Linked DNA regions of Homo sapiens: region 1 is linked to region 2. The links are contacts of gene promoters, found by promoter capture Hi-C in blood cells and fetal thymus (Javierre and others, 2016). All regions are on one chromosome and are shown on one strand. Each heading gives the region's core, a stretch centred on a gene start or on the middle of the fragment in contact. The rest is flanking DNA. Distances are from core to core; before and after follow the strand shown.

Region 1 (3,873 bases), core at 143-2,642, 1.0 Mb before region 2:
TCTGGGAAGGAAAGGGGGACCCCCGACACCCCGTCCCAGTTCTCCAAAGCCCTCGGAGCCTGCAGAAGAGCTCTGCACGAAGGAATAGGATTGGCAGAGGGACAGAGCCTCTCTGTCAGGCAGAAGTCAAGTTGAGTGATGGGCACCCACCTGGACAGCTGAGACAGGGTCTCAATGTCTGACCAGGCTGAAGGGGAACTTGGGAGGGCTGGTTCTTAGCAATGGAAAGGTTGGCGTGACACTGAACTCTGCCTCTCGAAAGCCCGACCCCACCTATGGGAGACGGCAGCGGTAGAGGTCACCAGCATTGCTTAGAAGCAGCCCCCTGCAGACGTCTCCCCTACCCCCACCCTGGGCACCAGAAGGGGAAGCCCGCAAGAAAGGGCAAGGCCAGCGCAGGATCAAAGCTCAGCCTCCTCTCCAGCTCCAAGACTGTGGCTCTGGCTGGCATGGGAAGGGGAGATGAGTTTCAAATGGAGCTTGAGAGTGAAGATTTAACCAGTGAACGGGATGGAATCCTAACTCCTACAAGCAGTAACCAAAAGAAGTCGAAAGCTTATGGCTCCCTAATAAGGACTTAGGGAGCTGCTGCCCAGTGGGAAAGGGGGGTTCTGCAGTTAAGAGGTAGATGCTGGAGGAAACCAAACCATATTGTGTATAAACCGCAGGGGAGAGACTCCTCAACCATATGGCTCTGCTGACCCGTGGTGAGGATGGAATGGATGAGGATGCAGGCCCTGTAACTGGATCAGTAAAAGGCCCCACCACTTGGAGCAATGAACCTTCTGTTGAGCTCCTTCACCCCCTGTTCTTCCTGCTCAATCAATTCGTAGGCCTCCATATAGTCCTTTCTTTCAGCCTGAAGAAAGGTGTCCATTACCACCCCCAGTGCCCCTTGCATTAGTCAGGTCTTTCAGTGAAACAGAACCAATAGGAGATTCATATAATAAATAATTGGCTCCTGTGACTGTGGAGGCTGACAAGTCCCAAGATCTGCAGTTGGCCAGCTGGAGACCCAGGAGAGCCGGTGACGCGGTTCCAGTCTGAAGCCAGCAGACCCAAGACCCAGGAACAGCTAATGCTTAAGTTTGAGTCCAAAGGTTGGGGGGCTTGGAGAGGGTGACAAATGTCCCAGCTTGAAGGCAGTCAGGCAGGAGGCGTTCCCTCTTACTCATGGGAGATCAGCCTTTATGTTCTATTCAGACCTTCAGCTGATTGGCCACTTTCGCCCTCTCCTTGTGGTCCTGTCAAACTCCTGGGAAGGTGGGGAACACTTGCCCTCCTACTTCCTTGCCTGCCTCAGCTCCTCGGCCCACTCCACTTGAGCTTCTGCCTCCTGCACTGTCATTGGGTGAGTGGCTGATGGCTCACTGACTGCCAAGTCCAGTGGACATGGGCAGCCACACCTTACTTGACCTCTTTGGGACTCTCAGCCCTGCTGGCCTTGTCCCATCTTCGGTCCCTCCCAAGGGCTTCTGAGGTGCCACCGTGCACTGCTGGTGTTTTCACAGCACTGACTGCCACTTTCTGGCTGGCCCCTTCATCTTGTTTGCTGACTCCTGGTCTTGTGTTTCAGCCTCTAACCCTGGTGTTACCAGAGATGTTGTAGGTTCTCTTTCATCCTTGACCTTTTCCGTGGGGTGGGTCACATCCTTTCTGCCCACTCACCAATGGCCCTCAAACCTGCCCCACATCCTTGACTTCTGCCTGTGTTCCCAACCTGTCTCTCCCACTGTTTCTGGACATTTCTGTCCACATGCCTCAAGACACATTGACACACAACCTTCCCCAAACAGAACCCTTTATCTTCCCACTCACACTCCCTTGATATAGCCTATGGCCCCAACACCAGCCCCACACCGTCCTATACTCCTCCCTCTCCTCATGGTCAATGGCCCACAGACGCTTCCAAGTGGACCTCTTAATCCCCATCACATCCATTCCTTCTTCCTCATCCTTAACAACACATCAAGCTGTCCAGCACCACTTCTTGTTTCCTTTCTAGCCTCCCTTTCTCCCATTTTCTCACATTGCTGGAATGATCTTGCTAAAATACAGTTTAGTTGTATCTGCCCCCACCCCCAGCTCTGGGGGCTATTACACAGAGCTGCTTATCATTTGCTGTAATTGTCATGCCCTTTCACATATCTATGGCTTAGCTCATATCATTCCCCTAGCCCAGAATTATTCTTTACCCTTTCTGCCTTATCACAAACTGCCTGGAAATAATAAAGCTTAGAGCAGGGTGAAAAATATAGAGAACAGAAGAATGATAGAGAAAATTAATGAAACCAAAGTTGGTTCTTTGAAATGATAAAAAAAATTTGACAAACCTTTAACTAGACTGCCAAAGGAAAAGAAAGATTCAAATTACTAAAATCAAGAACGAAAGAGACAATTCCATCTGCATATTTTTCAAATATAGACAAGTTGATCTTATAATTCATATGGGATTAAAGGAGCCCAGAATAGCCCAAACAATCCTGGAAACAAGGTTGGAGGATGCACAGTTCTCTAATTCAAAACTTACTACAAAGCAACAGTAATCAAAATTGGCACGAGAATAACCATATATATCAGTGGACTAGAACTGACAGTCAAAAAAAGTCCTCACATTGAAGGTGTCAATGGATTTTTTACAAGAATTCTAAGACCATTAAACAGATGAAAGAATAGTCTTTTTTTTACAAATTATAAATGTTCATCTCTAACACATACCACATACTAAAAATTAACTCAAAGATCTCAATATAAAAGTTAAAATTATAAAAATCAGAAGAAAACATAGGTTTGAAAATTTGTAATCTTGGATTAGGCAACAGCTTTGTGGATATGACACCAAAAGCACAAGCAATCAAAGAAAAAACAGATAAGCTGAACTTCATCAAAATTAAAAAAATTGTGCATCAAATAACACTATCAAAGTCAAAAGACAGACCACATACTGGAAGAAAATATTGCAAGTCATATATCTGATAAGTGTCTAGTTTCTAGAACATATAAAGAATTCAAAGAATTCATACAACTTAATAATAAAAAGACAACTCCAATTAAAAATGGAGAAAGAAATGGAATAGGCATTTCTACAAAGAAGACATAGAAATTACCAATAAGCACATGAAAATATATTCAGTATCACTAGTCATTAGGGAACTGCAAATCAAAACTACAGTGAGGTACCACTTCACACTCACTAGTATGGCTATAATAAAAAATAATAACAAGTATCAACAAGGATGTGAAGAAATTGGAACCCTTATACATTTGTGGGTGGGAATGGAAAATTGTGCAGCAGCTGTGGAAAACAGCCTGGCAGTTCCTCAAAAAGTTAGATGTCCGGTTACCGTATGATCCAGCAATTCCACTACTAGGCATACATCCAAGAGAACTGAAAACATATGTTCACACAAAAATGTGTACGTGAATCTTCATGGTGGCATTCTTCGCAATAGCCAAAACAGAAACAACCCAAATGTCCTTTGACTGATGAATATATTAACAAAATGTGATAAATCCATACAATGGAATATTATTTAGCCTTAAAAAGATGTGAAGTATTGATACATGCTAAAACATGGATGAACCGTGAAAGTGTTAAAGAAATGTCAGTGAAGGAAGAAGCCAGATGTAAAAGACCACATATCGTATGGTTTCATTTATTTGGAATATCCAGAATAGGCAAACCTATAGAGGCAGCAAGTAGATTAGCGGTTGGCAGGAGCTGGGAGGAGTGCAGAAATGGAAGTGACACCTAATGGGTAGAAGGGATTTTGGGAGGCGATGAAAATGTCCTGGAATTAGATCATGGTGATGATTGCACAACTTGGTGAATATGTTAAAAATCACAGAAATGCGTCCGTTAAGATGGTGCAT
Region 2 (3,832 bases), core at 435-2,934:
AAGACAACCGGAAAACACTGAAGGAGCGCTCAGCCACTGCACCTTCAAAAAGGCAGAAAAGTCAGTTCAGGGAGGTGCCTCCCAGCTACCCCACCCACCTCAGGAGGGGTCATTCCAACCTAGGGTGCTGAGAATCTGGGTGGGATTACCAGCAAAAGCTAGAGAACCATGGGTCAGCGACCCTTAGGAAGAAGTGGAAAGGAGTCTTAACTTACCTGCAATAACCTTCCTATGCGAAGTTGTGGCTAACGCATGCCTAATGGCTAGAATTAAATGCTGGGAATATAACGAGCTCAGCACAGGTTATCCGCGTGTCAGATGTTCCTGCTGTCTTCTACAGTGGGGACATTTCCTAGCCTATTCCCAGGCTCCTTTAGAAGGGAAGTGGAGGTGCCCCATCTTCACCTGCCGCGTCCCCTCCAGCGTCTGCCCGGGCCCTGGGCCTGCGCTCCCTCGCGGTGGCGCCAGGTGGCGGGGCTGCGCGCCCTGGAGGAGCTGCACCGCCGTCGCGGGGCTCTCTCAGCACTGAGGACACCACGCCCTGCAAATTGTTGGGAACTTGTCGGTGGCAATCACACTGCTGGCTCCTGCAAACTGGTGTGAGGCCCTCAGGGGTGAGAACAGGATTGCAGAACTGCGCTCACCCTTTTGGAAAGTCGTCCAGTGGCAGAAGTAGCCTCCCAGGAGCAGAGCGAAGCTGCTCGGTGGTCCCCTCTCCAACCAGGGACCCAAGAAGCCGCTCAAGGGAACACGGCCCCGCGGCGTCCGGGAGGTCCTGCAGGAGCCCTGCGGCTGCCCCGGTTCTGTGAAATGGCAGTGAGGGTGGGGGAGATGTGCGCTAAATCCTGGGAACGTGCGAGTCATAACTTTCCAGGAGAGGGGCCCAGGGCGCTGGTCCTGCAGGGCGTGGAACCCTCTGCTCTTCCTGAGCAGGCTTTGTCCCCGGGTCGACACGGGGAGCTCAGCGTGAGGCCCGCCTGCAGCGTGGACGCAGATCTTTTTTATGGTCTGCGTTTCTGTATTAGCCTCAGCAGCCTGGTGACGCCTTTATAAAAGGTCGAAACACGATAAATTGCCAATATTCCACGTTTTATGTATTCCCCCCAAAGCCGACAATTAACAATGACTCACCGAGCAGCAGATTCTTTGCACACATCCATAATTGAATCAGTAAAATCCATGTGTTGGAGGATATGCAAATTGCAGGTCGTTAACGCTTTAGAACGACACATTTCTGTATCGCCCCGTGAAGAGCTCTACGCACATGAATGTTCCCCGTCTGTTTAACTGTTACGGCCGCAGTGTGTGGGCCGCAGGCGCGCTGGGGGCTCATCTGCTGATTTTGCTGCCCCTGGAGCAGAGGGATAGCGAAAGCGGGGCTGAGCGCAGCACGGACCGATCCCATCGCCGCGCTCGCCCCGCGTGGAGGCAGCCGGGTGCCCGAACCTGAAGGAGGACCCGGTGCCGGAAGGGCCCGCGGACCCCGGCGTCTCCCGGGGCATCGAGCGCCATCGCCCGCGTTTTACGGCCAGGGAAACTGAGGCGGCCGCCGAGGGGACGCCTCGCGACGGTTCCTGGGAGAGCTGGCGGCGGCCTTGCTCTGCGCGCTCTTCGCGCCGCCCTCCCCGCCCGCCCGCCTCAGGATTGAGGAAGTGCGTCTGGGCCCGGCCCCGGCGCGGGGGGCAGACGGCGGTGGGACGGCCAGGCCCCGGCCCCGCCAGTGTGTCCGCCCGGCCCCGCGTCCCGGAGCGCCCGCACCCGGCCCCGCCGCCGCCTCAGGTAAGCGCCGCTCCTGCCGGCGCCCCCCGGCGGCCTGGCTGCCTCCCGGCCCCGCCCGGGGAACCCAGAGCCCGCGCCCGGCGCCCGCGGGGAGCCTCGGCCTCTGCCTGCCCGCGGGCCCCTGCGCTCCGGGCGGCCGCGTGGTCGGGCACGGGGGGCCGTTGCGCAGGGGCCGCGGCCCGAGGGGCGCGGAGGGCGTGTGGGGCGACCCCGGTCTCACGTCCCCGCTGCCTCCCGCCGCGCCCGGAGCCCAGCCAGCCTGTGGGAGGGGAGCGCGCGGGGCCCGAGCAGGGAACCCCGAAACCCCGTCCGGGCAGGGTCGGGAAAGCTGGGAAGCGGAGGCAAGAGACACGAGTCGGGAGACACGAGCCGGGGAGCCCATAGGTTTCCTCTGCCTTTGGAGCGAACCCAGTCCCTTAGCGGGGAGCGGGCGGAGTGTGAGCGCGCGGGTGAGCCCGTGCCGGGGTGTCGGCAAGAGACCGCCCGGGAGCCTCTCGCTGGTCCGGGGCTTCCTGGGGTTGCGGGGCGGCCCAGCGAGGCTTCACCCTCCTCGATGTCTGGGTCACGCTTCTTGCCCAGGTGGTCTCTGGCTGGCGCAGATACAACTGCTCTGTCTACCATGGTCTCTGCAAGCTACAGGGGACCTTCCTGGCAGGCAGGGACGCGGGAAGGAAGCCTAGGAAGGCCGGGGTCAGCGAGGAGACGCTGGTGGAGAATCTGAGAACCCCCGTGGCCATCTCAACCTACCCCTTCACAGTATGAGGCCGCGAAGTTTTTCTCCCACGAACACTTCCCCTGCAACAGGTAGAGAAACGGGGGCATATAGCTTTCAGCAAACCTCTCACCGTGTACACTAATGATAGAGTTTGCCAGCCACTCACAGGGTATCAAAATGCCCAGACATTAAAGGGATAGCTAGAACATGCACAATTTTGGAAAATGTTAACATTAAACGCCTTTTATGATTTGATTCTCTTCATCTTTGCCTATGTCCTGAAAGAGAAAATAATATAACAAACTAACCTCACACCTAATTTGTTCCTAAAGGAGGTTTTGCGGTCAGCCAAACCTTTCCCTCTCCCAAAAGTCGATGTCTCTGGCAGTGACCTCGCAGTCAACTCGGATCCTCAGATAAAAAACATTCAGTCTGTTGAATCTATGTCTAAAATGTGTCCTGATCTGTCCCCTTTTTCTTATGCCCCCACCCCCCACCCTGCCCCTTGTCCAGGGTACCAGCATCTCTTTACTGTAGGATTTCAGTTCCCCCTTCCTCCATTCTCTATATAGCAGCGTGCGTCTGTGTGTGTCTGTGTGTTTAAATGGGTAAATCAGACCATATCAGTCCTCTTTATGGAGTCCTTCAGTAGCTTCTCCTTGCAACTGGCACGCAATCCAGGAGACCTCCTTCTCCTCACACCCCCAGCTGATCCAGCCTCTGCTGTCTCGGACCACCAGGCCATTGCCCCAGGCCACACTGGCTGAGCTTGCTGTCCAGCACTGGTCCCCTGCACTGCTGCCTCCTGACTCTTCACACAGCCTCAGAAAGTCTTCCCTGGTCACCCTCTGAAAACCCACGCTCCCTCTCACATCCCTCACTCTGCAGCCTCCCTGCAGTCCCCATTCTGTACTCCTTCTTTATCTGTTTAATTTCTCCTTAATTATCTTGTGGTCTCCACTGGAGCTCTTGGGGTCAGAGACTGATCTGTCTTGCTTATTGCTGTGCCCTCATTCCCATAACTGTACAGGGAGATACCCCGTGCATGGTGGTAGAGTGACTGGATGGGGAATGGACAACCCTAACTTACCTGTGGTTTCAGACTCATGGAGCATTTCTCTCCTCCACCCTTTTTGGGCTCATCTGGGATTGAGAACAACATATTTCTCTGGCCTGCAGCTCCAAGATATTTGGATGCCCCCAAACCCATTAAACACATTTTATAGGCAAAAGCCAATGCTAGTAAGGGATGCAAATAGCACTCAAGAGATTTCTAGAATCATGGGCTAACCATTTTGACCAGGATTTTGTTTCAAAAAGGAACTAGGTGATATGAAT

Evidence for each region. Contacts are between HindIII fragments. The CHiCAGO score rates a contact against its expected background, and 5 or more counts as called.
Region 1: a contact is called between a fragment that was not itself captured here and the fragment with the promoter of LRRK1 in region 2, in 1 of 17 cell types (naive B cells). The highest score is 6.7, in naive B cells.

Annotation. Positions count from the first base shown.
Region 1 is chr15:99,917,962-99,921,834 of GRCh38, forward strand. No RefSeq gene overlaps it. Among named protein-coding and RNA genes, the nearest start is that of LYSMD4, 190 kb to the left of the region's middle. The HindIII fragment of the contact is 1,679 bases long and covers 554-2,232 here.
Region 2 is chr15:100,917,673-100,921,504 of GRCh38, forward strand. LRRK1 (leucine rich repeat kinase 1) reads left to right here and starts at 1,685. Exons shown (of 34, transcript NM_024652.6): 1 at 1,685-1,779. It overlaps ALDH1A3-AS1 (ALDH1A3 antisense RNA 1), which reads right to left and starts at 1,611. Exons shown (of 2, transcript NR_135827.1): 1 at 1,132-1,611. RefSeq lists silencers at 352-571, 1,332-1,921 and enhancers at 357-949, 702-791, 842-961, 2,136-2,727, 3,254-3,313. The HindIII fragment of the contact is 4,524 bases long and covers 1-3,832 here.